Regions from separate parts of the Homo sapiens genome. Here regions 1 and 3 are each linked to region 2. The links are contacts of gene promoters, found by promoter capture Hi-C in human tissues and cell types (Jung and others, 2019). All regions are on one chromosome and are shown on one strand. The core of a region is centred on a gene start or on the middle of the fragment in contact, and the rest is flanking DNA. Distances in the headings are between cores, read along the strand shown.

Region 1 (2,751 bases), core at 61-2,560, 560 kb after region 2:
GGCTGAGACACTGCTCATTATCTATTACCTCTGTTTTATAGATGAAGAAACAGAGGTTCAAAGAGGTTGGCATAGCTGAATTATAATAAATGCCTTTACACTTTCTCTGCACGAGCCTGGCTAGGCAGGATTTCAAAGCTCCACCATCTTTCAACTGTACCCCGAGGTTGAGTCCTAGGTCTAGCTTCCACACTGAACAACATACTATCAGAATTGCCTGGTCAATTTTCTTTTGAACATTTCAGTTACTGTATTACTCTATAAAACATACAACTCAACAATATTAAAGAACATAAGCTAAACTGTTTAGGAAAATGTGAAGTTAGCGATAGATTTGGCTGTTCGCCCCATTTCTGCTTGTGGCAGGCACTGTCTCATTGCTTTCAATAGTCAGGCCTGTGGGACTTCTTCAGTGTCTCAAATGACCCATGCATTTGTAGAACCTCATCTCAGGAGCCTTTTTATATGCTCCTGCTCTGCCTCGATTGCTTATTACTTGTAAAGTAATTTCAGAGAATTTTCCTATGGCAGAGATTGCTATTTAGTTGCTATCTGCTTCCCCTTTATTCCTAGTGACAGGAACCATGGTTTTAACTAGGGGCATGGCTATGTACAATAAAGGTTGCATTCTCTGGCCTCCCTTGCAGGTGGGTGAGGTCATGTGAGGGACAGTCGTTGTATGGCACTTTCTAAGAATGTCCCTTAAGAAAAGGAGCGTGTATCCTTTCTTCCCTTTTTTCTTCTTTATTTAGCTGAGTAGAACAGAATGTAGGAGGCCAACAGATAAACCATGGAGACTGCTTAATAAGCAATTGCAACTGTCCAAGCAAGAGTTAGTGTCCACTAGTGGTGGTGGTGGGGTCAGTGAGATGTGGCTGGATTCTGATAATATCGAAGGAAGAGTTCATAGGACGCACTGATAAAATGAGGGAGAGAAGAATTAAGGGAGAATCCAAGGTTTCTGGTCTTAGCCAAGGGGTGAATGTGTGTTACTGAGATGGAGAACACAGGGACACAAGCACACGATGCTGGAGAGTGTTAGTGAGGCTGGAAATCAGGGGTTCTCTTTTAGTCGTCATAAGTGTGCAATGACTCTCTTATATCCACCCAGTGATGTCAAACAGCTAATTGTTAGAAACAAATTTTCAGTGCCACAAAGTGAAACCAGCACTCAGGCAAAAGTTTTCTCAGCAAGGCAATATACTTCTATAGAAGGGCACTTCCTGCATGCAAGGCAGAGGCAAGGGAGAGTGAGCAAAACAAAGGAGAGCAGGAGTTTTTTATCCCTAACACAGACCCTATTCCTATGTCCTTCCACTGCAGGCTGGGGTTGGACCGCTCAATCTAGGCTAATTCTGATTGGCTACTGTTGACATCATCAAAGGAGGCAACAGTGGGCATTTCACAGGAAGGAAAGGTACGGTATATCTTGGGGTGTTTGGGCACAGTAGAGATAGGGAGGGCTGACAGATGAATGGGTACAATTATCTTTTAGAATAGAACAAAGAACCAGGAACCGAAACCCTCTGAAGAGGAACTATATATTCTTAACAACATAACTGAATAGACAAGTCTTGAGCTCAGAGAAGAGGTTGGATCGAGTTGGGAGAAATGTAAAGGGAGTGTTTACAGCCATGGGATTTGGTGAGAGCCATGAAGAGCGAATGTGAAAAGGGAAGACAGCTGAGGAGTTTGTTATAGGGCACCCAAAAAACAAAATCAAAAGGATCTGTCAAAGCTTAGGAAGATGAGCAGTCAGTAAGATAGAAGAAAAATCAGAAGTAAAGGGAAGAAATTGCTTTAAGAAGGATGGTACTGAAGCAATTGTGAATGGGAGTTCACTCATGATTTGGCTCTCTGTCTGTTGTTGGTGTATAAGAATGCTTGTGATTTTTGTACATTGATTTTGTATCCTGAGACTTTGCTGAAGTTGCTTATCAGCTTAAGGAGATTTTAGGCTGAGACAATGGGGTTTTCTAGATATACAATCATGTTGTCTGCAAATTTTCCTAATTGAATACCCTTTATTTCCTTCTCTTGCCTAGTTGCCCTGGCCAGAACTTCCAACACTATGTTGAATAGGAGTGGTGAGAGAGGGCATCCCTGTCTTTTTGCTTCAAAGAGAATAAAATACCTAGGAATCCAACTTACAAGGGATGTGAAGGACCTCTTCAAGGAGAACTACAAACCACTGCTCAAGGAAATAAAAGAGGATACAAACAAATGGAAGAACATTCCATGCTCATGGGTAGGAAGAATCAATATTGTGAAAATGGCCATACTGCCCAAGGTAATTTACAGATTCAATGCCATCCCCATCAAGCTACCAATGACTTTCTTCACAGAATTGGAAAAAACTACTTTAAAGTTCATATGGAACCAAAAAAGAGCCCACATCGCCAAGTCAATCCTAAGCCAAAAGAACAAAGCTGGAGGCATCACACTACCTGACTTCAAACTACACTACAAGGCTACAGTAACCAAAACAGCATGGTACTGGTACCAAAACAGAGATATAGATCAATGGAACAGAACAGAGCCCTCAGAAACAATGCCGCATATCTACAACTATCTGATCTTTGACAAACCTGAGAAAAACAAGAAATGGGGAAAGGATTCCCTATTTAATAAATGGTGCTGGGAAAACTGGCTAGCCATATGTAGAAAGCTGAAACTGGATCCCTTCCTTACACCTTATACAAAAATCAATTCAAGATGGATTAAAGACTTAAATGTTAGACCTAAAACCAT
Region 2 (3,060 bases), core at 179-2,678:
CTGCTAGGCCGGTCCTTTGAGACAAACTAAGCATTCCAGTGATGACTCACTGCGTAACTGTCACAATTATCGGTAGTACTTGCTTGGGAAGACCCTTAGGGTGGCCAGCTTCTTGCTAGGGTGTGGTGAAACACAGCAGGTGACAGCTTCCTTGCTGCGCACAAAGAAGGAAAGTCAGTGCCAGCTAGAAGGTGCCAGTTAGAAGCACGTGGTCAGCCCTGGGCAACAGTGAGGATGACCCGAATCTGGGGTACGTGCACATTAGGGTACGTGGGTGGGATGGTGTGGGGCTGCTTCTGAAATCCAGTATCCTCCTGTTGGCCAAGTCAGGCGCCCTTGGCTGTGGGGCTGTGTCTACCTGGAGGAAAGACCTCCTTCTCCTAATTTGCCCAAGGAAGTCTCTGGGGCTGTCGTGGCCTCATGGGTCAGTGCTGTCCTTGTGGGCCTGAGAAGGCTCCCGAAGCCTCGCCTTGGTCTGCATGCCAGGTTTGGAGTCCCGGCTCCCCTAGCTGTCTCCCAATGGCCGGTCTCATGGCTGCATAGCCAGTGTCTGAGCCCAAGGCCTTGCTGGTCGGACAGACCTGGGCTGGGGTCAGGGAGTTCAGGCTCTGCCTTTTGCTTGTCGAGTGCCCTGAGCCAGGCACTGAAGATGCCTGGAACTCATTTTCCTGGGCAGCGAAATGCATATAATGGTGTTTTTTCATCAGGGAATCATGAGGGTTAAATCTGATGAGTCTTATAAAGGTAGAACACCATCTCCGGCACTTGCTCAGTGCTCAGTGAGGACTGCCCATAATTAATGCTGATTGTGTTTCCACACCAGGTGCCGTGGGCGGGGTCATTGCCCAGGGCTATGTAGGATCCTCACTAATGTGAAGTGGTGGATTTTTCCCCCGGGTAAATTTGCCAGGTGCTCTCTGTCTGGCATTGCATCTTTTCACAGATCGACTCAGAGCAATTTGGGTTTTCAGCTATATCCTGGAGCAACATCCAGGTCTCAGACAGCCCTGAGAGCATCCCCTACCACCTTATCCTCCATTCATTTATCTCCTCATTTCCCCTCCATTCTTCTCTCCCTTCCTCCCTCTTTCCCTCTCTCCCTCCCTCCCTTCTACCCTCTCTTTCTCCCTCCTTTTCTTCCTTCATCAATTTCTCCTACTTTTCTTCCCTCCCCTCCTTCCTCCTACCCTTTCTGCCTCTTTCCATCTCCCAACCATTTCCCTCCCTCCCTCACTCTTTTCCTCCATCCCTCCCTCTCCCCCTCCTTCTCTTTCTCCCTCCCTTCTTCTCTTCTCCCATTCATTTCCCTCCTTTACTTGCTGTCTTCCTCCCTCCCTCCCTCCCCTGCTCTCTGTCTCCCCAACCATCAGGAATAACAGATGCCTACCGTGAAGGCTCCACTGGAGTGCAGCTGGATGAATGATGCTAGGGTTTGAACAGGTGCAGACTGAGTCCTTTATACCCCAAGGAAAGACCCTTAGCCATGTGATGCCTCTCCCCACTCCTCACATCAAGAAGGAAGCCTTTCATGAATGTTGGCAGGTGGGCTGCCTCTGAAGGGAGGAGGCATCATAATACTATAGCTTGGAACAGGTGAAGGCTCCATATTAAGAAGCCCCATCTTGAGCCTCAGAGGAGACCTCAGGCTCTAATTAGAGAACAATGGGTTCCCTGTTCTACCCCACCTCACCTCAAAGGCTAGGAGGCCCATGGATTATGTCTCAGGGTCATCATGGGAACTCTCGGGGGATGAAAGACTGATGAAAGTCATGTGGGCTCTCCTGCAAGATAAAGGGCTGGCTTTGTCTGGTCTAGTTCATTCTTTAGCAAGAGGATTTCTAGCGTGATTCTTCTTATATGTTCTTGGCCTCAGATCTCGGAATTTGATGCCTCTTTCCTTTAGGGCTTTTCTGCCCAAGCTGTGGGGTAGGGTGAGGTGGGGCTTTATAATCAGACACCCAAGGTTCCTCTGCCAGCCCTGCTACTGAGTAGCAGTGTGACCTTGAGTTTGTCACTGCTCAGCTTTAGCTTCCACATCTGTTAAATGGGCTTAATCCTACTAAGATTTCGAGGCTGAAGAAAGCCATATATAGTGTGTGGTATGGGGGCTCATTAAGTCCTAGTTCTTTTTGTCACTTCCTCATATCGCCTTGTGAAGGGTTTTCTTTCCTGATTTTGAAAGGAGAACTGGCATTTATTGAGTACGTGTAATGTACCACAAGTGTTTTATAGGATTTTGCCCTCATCATCCCTGCAGCAGCCCTTCCATTACTGCTTTCATAATCCTAGGAGCAAGGATTAATTAGCTCCACTTTACAGATGAGAAAAAATGGTGTCGTTGAGGTTGAGGCATTGTAGAAGCTCACGTGTAATGGAAGCATTCTGGAATGCAGGTTAGCCTGGCTGTGAACCCTCTGAGTTGCTCACTCTATGGCCACCTCCTGAAGAAGCAGGACTCCTCAAACGATTAAATCAGGGCACAATTGAGCCTCTATGGAAGAACCCATTGAAGGGCTTCTTCAAATAAGTAATTACTCTCATTCATTGAGGCTTGTGTTTGTAGATCATTAACTATTGTTCAGCATCTCATGTGATTTGAGGAATGAAGATGCATTGTCTGTAATATTTTCTCATTAGCACCAAAGACCCACCATCTCTAAAATGACTAAGCCCGTGGGCATCTATGGCTCAGTGCAGCAAAATCCATCTTTTCAGCATCTCAAGAGCATAGCTGAGATTGTTATTATGCTCAAGAGCATAACTGAGATTGTTATTATGCCTGAGCAATACAAAGGCATAACAATCTACATAGGTATCTTGTTCGAGACATTTCATGGGGTTTTGAGAAGGATCATTTTTTCCCATAGCTTACAACAGAGTATCTTAATCTTAGCACTGTTGACATTTGGGCCAAATTATTCTTTTTTTGTAGGAGTTGTCCCGAGCATTGCAATATCGCAGGTCTCTACTCAGCTGATGCCAGTAGCACTCCCTACCTTGTTGTGACAACCAAAAATGTCTCCAAACATTGCCAAGTGTCCCCTGGGGGCCAAATCACCC
Region 3 (2,873 bases), core at 347-2,846, 600 kb after region 2:
CTGCCATTTGTCAGATGAGGAAGTAAAGCACAGAGAGTTTAAATAACTTACCTGGGTCTTGGTGATAAGTGCTAGAGCCAGGTTTTAAATTCATGGTTTAGTGCCAGACCACCTGCTCTTAACCACTATGCTCCACTGTCTCAAGCATAAGCAAATAACAGCCTCTAGAAATTCCAGGTTTCCTGAAGGTGCAGACTCCTCTAGCTGAGACAGAGTTCTTCACAGCAACTTCTGCTACCACACCTCTATGTCACATCCTTAAAAGTGGAATTTGCCTTTTTATTAAATGTAAAAACATGTACGAACTTATCATTCATGTGGAGTTAGCTAAACTCTCTGCTACTTCTAGTGGTAGGAGATACGGGTGCTTGCAATGACAGTTCTTTATAAGAAGGACCAGAGCAATGTAGAGGTTGAGAGATTAAAATACCATACATGGGGAAAGTCCTTGCTGCTCTAAGCTTTGGCTCAACTAACAGGCAGAGATGGTCACAAACCAGATCCTGGTAAGGGACAGCCCAAAGCGCCCAGGAAGGAGGCTAACAGTACACCACCACCAGCCTGGCTCGCTGGGAACCCTGCTGCCAGCACCATTCAGCTGTCCCTGGAATTCCAATAATGGTTTGTGAACCAGCTTAAATAGGGTGCTATAATCAAGGAAAAGAGAAAAACCAAACCTGTAAGAGAAGAGCATTAAAACTACTCTCTATCCTCCTAACCAAAGTTGGTTCTAACAGCTTAAATCAACTGATAATGAATAAATGGGTACAGCCAGAGGATAGAGCAATGCTCCTGTGTAAAGTAAATGTATGATCTAGATCTGTAATTTACCTATAAGAATTCTCTTAGCAAGGATGCAACATGGGTCAAGGGGTTGAGATTGCACAACCTTGTTATCTGTACATTTAACAAAATGTGGAAATTACTGACCACTAGTAATAAGACCCTCAATGACTAACGGTATATCTGTAACTTAAACTACTCAAATCCATAGAGCAAGGGGGTGGATTGTTGGAGGCCTTGCTACTATTAGAACTGGAGTCCATGGGGCCAGGAGGACGTGCCCATCCAGAGCCCAAGTCTTCCTCTCTAGACCATGGCCCATGGAAGGAACAATGGGATTCTCTGTTCAAGGGGCTCCAAGCCTTACTCTAAACCTTGCAATGGCAGCTTCTCCAGGTTCGTTCCTGAAGACAGACCATGACATCAGGTACATATCCCAACGCCTAAGGGATGTCCAAGGGTCAGCTGTTTGTCAGGGAGGTGGATGGCATGGATGTATAGGCTGGAGTGTCCATGCTCATACATGGGTGTTAGGGGCCAGGACAGAGTCAGAGATGGGAAGAAAAGGGAAGAGTGGGCCAGAGGGCAAGATTTCCCCAATCCACCATGCTCTGTCATAGAACTCCAGCATAGGAAATGCAGCCCTCAGGTTGTTAGGAAAGTATACTTGTCAAGGTAAGAAGACATATTTTATTTAGCAGTTTGGTTTATAACTTGATACATAGGCCTTTACTTATACTCTTGCCCCAGATTCTAGTTGAAGGCTTAGTTTTGTATCCATATTGAAGATATAATTTGAACTCCAAAGGAGATGTCATCCATGGTTAAGTCGAATGTGTTCAGGGGACTTCTGATAGAATCTTAAGCATCACTTGGTCTCTGGCCTCATACTGCCATGTGGGACTTTCTGACTCTCAGGGCTGCTCAAGGTATCACAGGCGCCTCTAGTCTACACTGTGAAAGGCTTTTCTAAATTGCCCACTCTTAAAGATTTCCAGGGTTGACAAAGTTTCTACTGGTACCAAATATCCTTGTAGTATTCTCTTGCTATACCTCTGAACATTTAAGAAACTCTTTCTTCCTTTGAGACACGGTCTCACTCTGTCACCCAGGCTGGAGTGCAGTGGCACGATTACAGTTTGCTGCAGCCCAGGATCAAGGGATCCTCCTACCTCAGCCTTCTGAGTAGCTGGAACTACAGGCATGCGCCACCACACCCAGCTAATTTTTTTTTTTTTTTTTGTAAAGACAGGGTTTCACCATCGTGTCCACATTGGTCTCAGACTCCTGGACTCAAGCGATCCACCCACCTTGGCTTCCCAAAGTACTGGGATTACAGGTGTGAGCCACTGCGACCAACCAAGAAACTCTCTTCATCAAGGTATTACGTGTGTAAAACCAATCACTTCATGCAACTGTCAAATCTTCTCTTTCGAAGGCATGTAAGTATTAGGAAAGAATTATATTGATTCATATCTTCTAACCATGAGAATTAAGATGAGAAAAATCCCTATTAATTTAAAGAGGTGGAGTTTAGGGAGCCTCCCTTAGCATGAATAACTAAATTACACACACACACAAAGGAAAGAAGGGACACAACAGAGAAGTTTGCCTGGACAGCAATGATTATATACAATTAGGATACATTAAAAGAAAATAAATAATTGCAGAGGAGGACAGAACTGTGAAGATGTGGAAATTTCCCAGCAGATCTTTTCTAAACTCTCCTATGACAAGCAAACTGCCGTGTGGCTTACCATTTTATAGCGCTGAGGAAATTGTTGTTACACAGTGCTGCTTCACCTGTAATGGCAAACATCAGAACAAAAACCAGAGCCCCCGAGAAGAAATGTGTAAAGATATCTTCATGGTGCATGGAGATTATAGTGTTTCATGCTTTTGAACAGGAAAGCATTTTCGGTTTTATATACTGTCTAATTTAGAGCAAACATTCTTTAAGTCCAAGGAGCATTATTCGCCTTTAGAAATTTCTACTCCAAATAATATAGCACTGCAATTACGTGAGATCATTCTAGAGATTTAAAAATGCTTTGGGAAGACACAAAAGTGCCCAGCAAACTTTAAAAAAA

What was found. Contacts are between HindIII fragments. The study calls those that stand out against the background at their distance.
Region 1: a contact is called between a fragment that was not itself captured here and the fragment with the promoter of OC90 in region 2, in 2 of the 25 tissues and cell types used here (dorsolateral prefrontal cortex and thymus).
Region 3: a fragment that was not itself captured here is called in contact with the fragment with the promoter of OC90 in region 2 in 1 of the 25 tissues and cell types used here (dorsolateral prefrontal cortex).

What each region holds. Positions count from the first base shown.
Region 1 is chr8:132,615,586-132,618,336 of GRCh38, forward strand. All of the region lies in intron 7 of DNAAF11 (dynein axonemal assembly factor 11), which reads right to left. Among named protein-coding and RNA genes, the nearest start is that of HPYR1, 55 kb to the left of the region's middle. The HindIII fragment of the contact is 4,801 bases long and covers 1-2,751 here.
Region 2 is chr8:132,057,954-132,061,013 of GRCh38, forward strand. OC90 (otoconin 90) reads right to left here and starts at 1,429. Exons shown (of 14, transcript NM_001080399.3): 1 at 1,388-1,429. RefSeq lists enhancers at 1-499, 500-1,076. The HindIII fragment of the contact is 9,699 bases long and covers 1-3,060 here.
Region 3 is chr8:132,662,621-132,665,493 of GRCh38, forward strand. The region is part of intron 1 of DNAAF11 (dynein axonemal assembly factor 11); the gene reads right to left. Among named protein-coding and RNA genes, the nearest start is that of DNAAF11, 11 kb to the right of the region's middle. The HindIII fragment of the contact is 6,882 bases long and covers 1-2,873 here.